Linked DNA regions of Homo sapiens: region 2 is linked to region 1. Evidence: promoter capture Hi-C in 16 types of primary human blood cells and fetal thymus (Javierre and others, 2016). All regions are on one chromosome and are shown on one strand. Each heading gives the region's core, a stretch centred on a gene start or on the middle of the fragment in contact. The rest is flanking DNA. Distances are from core to core; before and after follow the strand shown. Region 1 overlaps TOP2B (DNA topoisomerase II beta). Region 2 holds the start of NKIRAS1 (NFKB inhibitor interacting Ras like 1).

Region 1 (5,265 bases), core at 1,764-4,263:
ATTTTAAAAAGCTTTTATTCTGTATTACCCAAAGCCTAATGCTTTAACTTAACTTGAAAAAAATTTAGGAACTATTTCTAATTTGAAAAAAATTTAGAAACTATTTCTCGTTAGTTGAAGCAGATTTTGATCTTCTATCTAGAACTTTTTTTTTTCTCATAACCTTTATGAAGTTTGTTGATCTTTGTATTGCTTGGCTTTTCTGGTAATAGCAGATGTTTCTACCTATCCCTCAAGTTCTAGCCACAAATCGCCTTTCTTCTATGAAGCCTTCCTAGCAATTCTACTCTAAATTGGTCTTAGATACCTAAACTTCTATACCAATTATTATGTACCTCTTATTTTACCTTTGTTCATTTTGCCTCTAGAATTAGATTACAAAATTCTTAAAGAAGTTGCCATATTTTATCATCCTCATGTTTTTACCATACTCTGGGTCCAGTATGATTACAGTGATAGCATATACTGAAAAGATTGTTACTGTGCTTATTGGCCTAGAGCCAGGGTGTCTAACCTTTTGGCTTCCCTGGGCCACATTGGAAGAGGAAGAATTGTCTTGGGCCACATGTAAAAATACACTAACACTAACGATAGCTGATGAGCTTAAAACAAAAACAAACAAAAAACAAAAATAATTGCAAAAAAACCAAAAAACAAAAATAATCGCAAAAACAAACAAACAAAAAACCTCATGATGTTTTAAGAAAACTGACAAATTTGTGTTGGGCCACATGCAGCCCACGGGCCACGGGTTGGACAAGCTTGGCCTAGAGCAAGAAGAATGGTAAGGGAGCAGAGTGATTTGCTCACATTGTTTCATGCAATCCTTATGAAAACTATATTAAGAAAGTAATTATTTCTATTACTTGGATGAGGACATAGACTTACTAGTTATTTGCTTAGTCACATGGTAAATGGCCAAGTTGAGAAGAATATACAGATTAGTGAGATTCTAAAGCCTTTATTCTTCACTACCACAATAAATCGCTTTTTATAAGGGTTTTCCTGATGTGGGATACTTAGAATAGATTTCAGGCTCCTTGATGGCATGCTGGCAATTTAGTTAGCTACAAATGGCGTTTTGGTTGTTTGAGTGTTTGGAAACTACTGTTAAAGGAGTTTGGTACCACTAGGTGATTCTTTAAGGCCAGAATGTTGTCTTTCAATTGGCAGTTCACTTTTGGAGTAGATGGAGATGGCATAAAAACATCTTAGTATATACCTGCAGATGGCTTTCTAGGAAAAAACAAACAAACAAAACAAACGTGTTAGTATGTACTCACTTTGTTACAGAATCTCAAGTAACAATTTTACTGGTGTTCTTGAAAAGCAAATTGTATCTTTGCTTTATTCCCCTGAATTGTTACAACTATATCTTGAAGTAACATTTTAAAAGAGCTCTTTTAAAAATAGGCTTTAAACCTGGCCAGCGGAAAGTTTTATTTACCTGTTTCAAGAGGAATGATAAACGTGAAGTAAAAGTTGCCCAGTTGGCTGGCTCTGTTGCTGAGATGTCGGCTTATCATCATGGAGAAGTAAGCATTAAGATTGGAATCAATTGAGAACTGTAATTATTGTCTTGAAGAATGATAATTACACATAGTATTTTTCCTTTAGTAAAGTCTTTGGAAATGTAAAAGAATTAAGAGAATATACAGATTAGTGAGATTCTAAAGCCTTTATTCTTCACTTGGATTTTAATTCAAGTTGGGGAGTAATTATAGAAAATTTAGAATATTAATGTTATGTTCTGCCTTCTTCTGTTGTATAGCAAGCATTGATGATGACTATTGTGAATTTGGCTCAGAACTTTGTGGGAAGTAACAACATTAACTTGCTTCAGCCTATTGGTCAGTTTGGAACTCGGCTTCATGGTGGCAAAGATGCTGCAAGCCCTCGTTATATTTTCACAATGTTAAGGTAAATATTTGCTGATATAATGGTATAAAGTTTGATTTGATTTGGAACCAACTAACTAAATGTTCGATGGAATTATAGCTGTGGAGAGATGTGATTATCTGGTTATTCTACTTAGAAGGTGAATGTTCCAAATTATTTGACCACAAATAGAATGAAGTCTGTTGACCTTAATTTTTATGAATTGTTGGTGAAATCAGTCCTAGTGAATTAAGGATGTTTTTCTCACCAACTTTACTCTTTAGGCTGAAGATGGGTTATGTACTTTATTTAGAGTAATAGGAAATTCTTTAAAAGTTATCAATATTAAATCAGGTAGGTAAGTACATAAGTAAAATAGGACTATTTTATTCTGGGCTTGTAACTGAGAGAAAGATGCATTTGAATAATACAGTTAGGCAAATTTTATTATTAAGCGGATGTAATCAAAATTATTAAAAATGCATTCTCTTCAAAAGATTTGTTTTTGCAGTGTGAAGTTTTTAATTATGTATAAAGTTTTCTTTCCCAAAGCCATGACATTTTTTCATTTGCTTCTTTTTGTTTTCATTAGCACTTTAGCAAGGCTACTTTTTCCTGCTGTGGATGACAACCTCCTTAAGTTCCTTTATGATGATAATCAACGTGTAGAGCCTGAGTGGTATATTCCTATAATTCCCATGGTTTTAATAAATGGTGCTGAGGGCATTGGTACTGGATGGGCTTGTAAACTACCCAACTATGATGCTAGGGAAATTGTGAACAATGTCAGACGAATGCTAGATGGCCTGGATCCTCATCCCATGGTAATTATTTGGAACTTATTATTTATTTAACAAATGATAATGTGTAAACTACAAATTCCCGTCATTTTAGAAAAGTAATGGAACATTTTTATTTTAGAACATATTGTAGACCGTAAAGACCTAATTAGGGTATAATTTGATATGTGCCTACAGTAAAAAGTATAAACTTTGGAATGAGTTTTGGAGGTAAGTTTCATGGGGAGAAACTGTTTATTTAAATTTAGAAACACCTCATATTCCAGGTTTTCAAACCTCTAAACCCTATATTATTAGAAAACAATCCTTTTCTGATAAAATTATGTGTAACCTTGTTTCTGTTCTCAAACTACCGCTTAATAGTTTGTAAGGATGCTTAAAAACACATTGTATTCATTAGTGTACCATTTGTAAAAAGACAGAAAACAAACTACCTTGTATATATTTTAATATATCCCCAAGGCTGGGCGTGGTGGCTCACACCTGTAATTCCAGCACTTTGGGAGGCCAAGGCATATGGATCACCTGAGGTCAGGAGTTCGAGACCAGACTGACCAACATGGGGAAACTCCATCTCTACTAAATATACAAAAAAAATTAGGTGTTGCTCAGGCTCACGCCTGTAATCCCAGCACTTTGGAGGCCGAGGTGGGTGGATCACCTGAGGTCAGGAGTTCTAGGCCAGCCTGACCAAACCAGGTAGAACCCTGTCTCTACTAAAAATACAAAAATTAGCCGGGTGTGCTGGAGGGCACCTGTAATCCCAGCTACTTGGGAGGCAGAGGCAGGAGAATCGCTTGAACCCAGGAGGTGGAGGTTGCGGTGAGCCGAGATTGCGCCACTGTACTCCAGCTTGGGGAACAGAATGAGACTCCGTCTCCCAAAAAAAAAAAAAAAAATCCCCATTTTTTTTTTATGTTTGTTGTTTTCTTGTATCATTCACTCTGCTCAGACCTCCTCCAAGAAAAATGTCCTTCCTTCCTCCCCATGATTTAAAATTACCTGGAGAAAAGTGTATTTTTATTACCAAAATGATAATGTTTATTGTAGAAAATATAGGTAAGCAAAGAGTAAAAAAATCCATAAACCCACAATATAGAGACAATATTTTGATGTATTTTTCCAAGTTTTATTTCATTTTTGTATTTTAAAGTGAAAGTTATTCTTTAGCAATAAGACATATATTCTGCTTTTTCTCTTAAATACTTCAAAGTACTTCAAAATATTTCTAACATAAGCATCAAATTTTTAATGATAGTGTTTTACTGAAATGGTTTTGGATTTTTAAATGGATTTTAGATTGTTAAGATAGTGTATTTGATCAATACATGGTTCTTATGTGCCTACTATGTGTATGAAACTGTGCTAAGTGGTGAGATAAAGAGCTATGGTTTTTATCTTTGAAAAGTTAAACAGTTGTCAAGACAAGACATCAAAGCATCAAGGCTTGAAGTTTAACAGTGACAAACGATATTGATAGTTGCTTGGTATGCCAGAAGAAATGTCCTATGCTATATGCTCAATTTCTTTCTTTCTTTTTTTTTTTTTCTGAGACAGAGTCTCACTCTGTCACCCAGGCTGGAGTACAGTGGTGTGATCTTGGGTCACTGCAACCTCTGTCTCCCAGGTTCAAGTGATTCTGCTGTCTCAGCCTCCTGAGTAGATGGGGCCACAGGTGTGCGCCACCATGCCTGTCTAATTTTTGTATTTTTAGTAGAGACGGGGTTTCACTGTGTTGGCCAGGCTGGTCTCGAACTCCTGGCCTCAAGTGATCCGCCTGCTTTGGCCTCCCAAAGTGCTGGGATTACAGGCATGAGCCACTGTGCCCGGCCTATATACTCGATTTCTTAATGATAATAACGAATAAGAATTTTAGAGTAGGCCAGGTGCAGTGACTCATGTCTATAATCCCAGCACTTTGGGAGGCTGAGCTGGGCAGATCACTAGCTCAGGAGTTGAAGACCAGCCTGGGCAACATGGCAAAACCCTGTCTCTACAAAAATACAAAAATTAGCTGGACATGGTGGCACGCATCTGTAACCCCAGCTACTTGGGAGGCTGAGGTGGGAGGATCCTTTGAGCCCAGGTGGTTGAGGCTGCAGTGAGCTGATATCGTGCCACGGCACTCCAGCCTGGGTGACAAAGTGGAGACCCTGTCTCAAAACAAATAAAAACTTAGAAGAGGGAGAGAGGACTTGTAATTCAGTTGGGAAGGATGAGTAAGATTTATGTAGATGAATGATGAATGGAATGGGGTTGGGCCTGAATATGTGTCAGGACTTGTGGATAGAGTGAAAGTGAGAATATTCAAAATAGTCAAACAAAATATGGGAGAAGAGTAGTGGTTTTGTAAGACAAATCATTAGAGAAAAAATTGAAAGCCAGATTGGGTCCAGACTATGAAATGCTTTCAATGTAAGGCCCAAGGAGTTTGAATTTAAAGGATATTGATCTAGGAGAGAAGTAGGTGTAGGGGAAGTAGGCTGAAAGAAAGTACTGTTCTAGGAAGACTAGGAAAGATGATACTAACATTTTGAGATTGGAGGATGTTCAGGTTGTATGAACAGAAGCTATGAATTCAAGCTTA
Region 2 (5,265 bases), core at 89-2,588, 1.7 Mb after region 1:
ATCTAATAGAAAAAAATAAAACACATCCCAGTCTTTTTCAATGCACCTTAGGCTACTCACACAGGGAGGCACACTGTTTATTTTGCTTTAGTCTGAACTCATTCAGATTTGTAACCTTTGACACACTTGCCACTTTAGACAACAGTGCATACAGTAACTGACCAGTGTTGCTAGCTTTTTTCTGCCAAAGCCCTATGCGAAGAAAGACACTGAGGCAGCAGTGTCTTCCTAACAGCTGGTTTCCAACTTTTCTCGAATATAATTTTATCCAAGCATCCACGCAGTCGATCACGTACCTTGCTTGGCCTTGTAGCCCAGTCGGCGCGCTTTATCAGGCCGGGTGGGGCGGGGAGCCCTGTGGAGAGCAGAGAGCTGGCGGTACTGCCAGCAGCGGACCCTCAGAAGAAAGCGCATGACATCAGACTGCTTCTTTCTCCATAGCTCCTGGATGTACTTGTATGCACCCATCTTGGCTTACCTGTGAAATCAAACTGTGTATTAAATATCATCCGCTTTAAGTACAATAAGACGACTGTATCCGTCCATCTTAGTTCCCCAACAAAAACAAGGAAACCGCCGGGAATGAAAATGGCTCTGCACCAACTGCCGGGGACAGCTAGCCCAACCCCCACCACTGCGCCCACGGAGCCGCGTTCAGTCACTTCCGCAACCCCAGCACAGAGCGGTGCTCGGCACGTTTTGGTGGGGCGAATTAACAGAACCAGAACTGAGCACCAAGGGGGCGGGTGGCTGCGGCAGGCGGCGTCCCCAAGGAGGACCTGAAAGGAGATGCCGCTGACATCACAGGACAAGGTACTGCTGCGGCCACCGAGGATTAACTCTCGAGGAAAATGCATCTACCCCACCCAACCAGCAGCCTCACTTTAGGCTGCCTTGTCCCGGGCGCCCCATTCGTCAGCCCCACGCCTCCTCCAGGATCCGGGCCCAGCTCGAATTCGCGCCGCCATCACATCTTCGCTCAACCCGCCCCGGGGGCCGCCTCTCCACCCCTTTGCTGTCCCGCATCCTGACCAAACTCTGGCCGCACAGGAGGGAGACCTATCTCCGAGGACGCAGGGTCCCCGGACCTGGATGGCTGAAGAGGAAGACGATCAAAGGCGGATGGAAGAGCAAAGATCCTCAACGCAGCCTACCTGATGGCTGCCGCCAGACGGAAAGGAAAGAGCTGTACTCCCACAATGCCTTTTGGGCTCCTCCCCCACCTCAGCCACCCTCTTTCCGGTGGAAAGCTGCGGCCTCCCAGAGCGTCATGGGACATGTAGTTCCGGCATCGCGCCTGGTGGCGGAGTTCTGCCGAGTGGGGCGCCGCGGCCGCTATTGTCCCGCCCCCTGCTCCGCAAGATTCGAGCCTGAGCGGCCTGGGCGTCTCGAGAGGTGAGAGAGTTGGCGGCGAGGTCTCGGCGGCTAAGCGAGCGTCGGCGACTGTCTCTCCGCGAGAGGAGGCAAGTTGGGGTCCAGGCTCCAAAGCCGGTGGCCGCGTACCGCGGTGGAGCCGCTGTCTTTGAGGTCTGAGGAGAGAACAGGTTTGTTTCACGCACCGCGGGCTCTCCCCCTGCGGAGTCTCTGCGTCTCCGCGTCTCCGCGCTGCGCTGTCCCTCTCTGGCCACCGCACGACGGGCGCAGAAATCTGGGCCCCAGAGCTGCGCTGAGAGATCCCCCGACGCTTCCCCAGCCTCCCAGGGAGGCCTTCGCGGAGTCGGGGCGTCGCGGGTCGGGGCGCTCGCTGTGTCCCTTCAGCTCCAGACTGCGTGAAGCTCCTCCAGCAGGCCCCAGCGCCCAGGGATTTTGTCCTAAAAAAGGGTCATGGAGTGGGTGGATTGCGGGCGGCCCGGCGCTTTTTCTGCATACGGATTTCGTCCCAAATTTGCTAACATGAGAACCACAGTTTTTCAGAAGAGCAGAATGTTTATTTGCCAAGACCTGTTTGGCAGGTGTGAATGTTTTAGAGAAGAAATGCCGAGAAAATGCTGGCATTTTGCGTTGCGGGTTTTTTTTTAAATTGAGAAATAGGTTACTGGCTTACTTTGTTTCTCCAGAATATTTTCACTTGGCTTTAATTTAAGTCATGTGGCTTTAATTTCCTTCCAGATTATGCGTTCAGATGTGGCAAAGGCTTAAGAGAATCATTATCTCTTAATCGTAGCGGTTTTGATTATCTTTTTTCCCACATCATATTTTTCTTTCTTTCTTTTTAAATCACAGCTTTACGTTTTTAAGAGTCTCTATCTGGTTCATTGATTGATTCAACAAATATTTATTAAGTGTCTAATATGTGCCAGGCATAGTTGCTGGGGATGCAGCAGGAAACAACGCAGAATTTTTGGCCTTCTTGGAAATGGGCAGTAAGCAGAAGTAAGCTGTGTTTTGGGTTTGGTGGTAAATGCTAAGGAAAAAAGATAAGGGGAGGGAAGTGATGAGGGAGTGTTAGCGGCTGAGGGTTGCAATTTGGAATGGAGTGTCCAGGTTAAGTCTTTGAGAGAAGGTAACATTTAAGAAAGGACTTCAAGGATAGGAGTCTGGGAGTAAGAGTAGGGGTCTGATTCAGGCAGAGGGAGAAGAGCCATGACTGGAGCATGCAAGATTAATAGAGGAACAGCAGGGAAGCAGTGTGGCTGAAATTCACAGTAGGGGAAAGTGGGAAATGACGTCGGAGAGGTGAAGGTTCTCACATGGACTTTGGATTTCATTGGCAGATTTTGAACAGAAGGATGACTTCATATGGCGTACATTTTAAAAAGATAACTCGGATTGCTCCTTTTGAGGCTAAAAGGAGAGAAAAAATGGAAGCAGAGAGACTGCTTAGGAAATTGTGTTAGTCTTCCATTGCTCCTGTAACAAATTTCAGCAACTTTGTTGGTTAATAATACAAATTTACCGTCTTTTAGTTTGTACATCAGACTAGGTCTGTAAATCTGTAAATATCACCAAGCTAAAACCAAAGTCAGTAGGGCTGTGTTCCTTCTGGAGGTACTAGGGGAGAGTACATTTATTTCCTTGGCTTTTCCACCTTATGAAGCCTGCCTGAATTCCTTGGCTCCTGACTGCTTCCTTCATCTTCACAGCCAGCAAAGGAGCATCTTCCAATTACACCTTCTGTCCTCTCCAGCACTCCTGTGTGTCTCTTATAAAGACACTTGTGATTACACTGGGCCCACCTAGATAATTCAGGATAATATCTTCGTATGGAAGTTCTTAATTTAATCACCCCCGCAAAATTCTTGTATGAGTATGTAAAGTAAACATATTCACAGGTTTGGGGGATTACGATATCTTTGAGAGACCAGGTGAGAGAACATGGTGCCTCACCCAGACCACTTCAGTAGTGATGAAAATGGTAAGTAGTGCAGCCCTGTATGTATTTCAAAGGTGAGGATGACTAAAAAGTTGAATGTGCTACTGTAGGTACGCTGCCTATGGGCGTAGTCCTGCTCCTAAAGGAGCAGTAAAAATAAAATTTAAAAAGTTGGATGAATCATTTGGAAAAACAATTCTAGTAGTGTGAATAATCACTGCTAATTTATCAATCACATTTGCAGTTTTGTTTCTCAATTTGTAGTTTCTCAGTTAACAGTTTTACAAGATTTGGATTTGTGTTTCCAGTTGATTTTGAGATTCCTGAGGACAAGGGATGATTTCTGTTTTTGCCCCCTAGTTTGTCCCTGATGGCTGGCATGATGGCAGGCCCTCAGTAAATGTTTGGTAAATGAATAAAAGAATGGTAAGCTAGAATCTGCTTTATTACATTTTATTTTGTGCAATACTGTGTGCAAAACCTGTTGAATATATTTTTATGTATGTAAATATATTCATATATGGATAAGTGAAAGTATTCCACACTATACATAATGTTGACATAAGTAAATACACAGTGTAGGTGGTTTCCCCACATGACAGTATTTTTAGAGATTTATAACATCTCTCCTATGATGTTAACAGTGTTTTGGTATTGTTTTTCTGGTTGCGTCAGAAAGTTGTGTTTTACTTATAAAAATAGAATGGCCCACTTACATAGAAGAACAGAAGCAATAACGGTTTTGGGGAGCTGTTTCTGATGGCTCTTCAAAGAAAATGTTGACAAAGCATTTCACAGGAATGGACCAGGTCATATATTTACTCTCTGTTTTTTTTTTTTTTTAGCCTCAAGTTGGAGAGAGGAGGTTGTATTTATTCTCTAGCAATGTTATTGATTAGCCTGGAAAGTAAAGCAATAAGTATTTAAGACTGCCCTGAATCTTGCCTATTAAGCACGTTCTCTTAGTAATTTACATCAGGTGAGGTTTAATAGGTCACAGATTGAATTTTATTGCCCAGTTTCTTAGGGTAGGGATGTGACAAGTAGCTGTAACTACTGCTTTTTGTGTTCACCTCAGTGTTGATGTATTCTCTGGATAAGCAACTTCTAATATCATGGCATCACAGTGTTGAAAGGAACCTAAAGGTGACCCATGTACTACAGAGCCTTTCAAATTCTTGAAACCTAGATTTAAGTAAGAGGCTTGGTTACCCCAGGATCGGTTCATGTGATTCAGTGCCCATTCAGGGTACTGCAGATGACCACCTTTGTATATTTCGCAGGAACTGGTGTACATTTATTGTGTTTGGGAATTATTAAATAATTATAAGTGCTTTAAGAACCAAACTTTTAGTAGTTTTTATTTGTAAATCTGAAAATATCTAAGCATGAGAACCACTTATTTGTAATGTGAGTTCCTGCCATAGCGATCATTTATAGAAAATAAAGTATTTTTGTGTATGTGTTATTTATTCAAAATGTTAATTATTTTTTAAAGAATTCTTAACTTTGTAATTGATGGTAGCAAGGCACTCATCTGCTTTATGTAGTGGTATTGTTTCCTATTTGGAAGGCAACCAGGAACCTAGAATATTTCAGCCTGCTTTGATTAATCACACTTATCTTTTCATCTTTGTTTTCTTTTTGATAGTGTAAAATATTTAATGAGGTCTGTTCTGTCATCTCTTTGCTTTCCTTCCAAAAAATGCTTAAAATTCTTAGCTAGTGTTTTGAGCTACTTTTATTCAGTTACTTTTACCGTTTGCCCATGATGAAGACTTCTTTGGTAATATCAAAAGGAACTCCCCAATTTATTAATATATACATACAATACAAAACAATGTATAATTTTTAGCAAACGTTGTCTGTTAATCCTATTATCCTGATAATTATATTATCCTGATAATCATATTATCAATGAGTGATCAAAGTACATTTGTAGTGTATTACTT

Evidence for each region. The method cuts DNA at HindIII sites, captures the fragments that hold promoters and counts their contacts. A CHiCAGO score of 5 or more calls a contact.
Region 2: a contact is called between the fragment with the promoter of NKIRAS1 here and a fragment that was not itself captured in region 1, in 1 of 17 cell types (neutrophils). The highest score is 5.8, in neutrophils.

Annotation. Positions count from the first base shown.
Region 1 is chr3:25,620,952-25,626,216 of GRCh38, reverse strand. TOP2B (DNA topoisomerase II beta) reads left to right here. Exons shown (of 36, transcript NM_001330700.2): 19 at 1,414-1,535; 20 at 1,772-1,920; 21 at 2,471-2,702. Among named protein-coding and RNA genes, the nearest start is that of TOP2B, 41 kb to the left of the region's middle. The HindIII fragment of the contact is 4,500 bases long and covers 764-5,263 here.
Region 2 is chr3:23,913,063-23,918,327 of GRCh38, reverse strand. NKIRAS1 (NFKB inhibitor interacting Ras like 1) reads left to right here and starts at 1,338. Exons shown (of 5, transcript NM_020345.4): 1 at 1,338-1,544. RPL15 (ribosomal protein L15) reads right to left here and starts at 1,196. Exons shown (of 4, transcript NM_002948.5): 1 at 1,155-1,196; 2 at 297-478. The coding sequence starts at 468. RefSeq lists enhancers at 455-554, 484-1,683, 935-1,734. The HindIII fragment of the contact is 19,179 bases long and covers 1-5,265 here.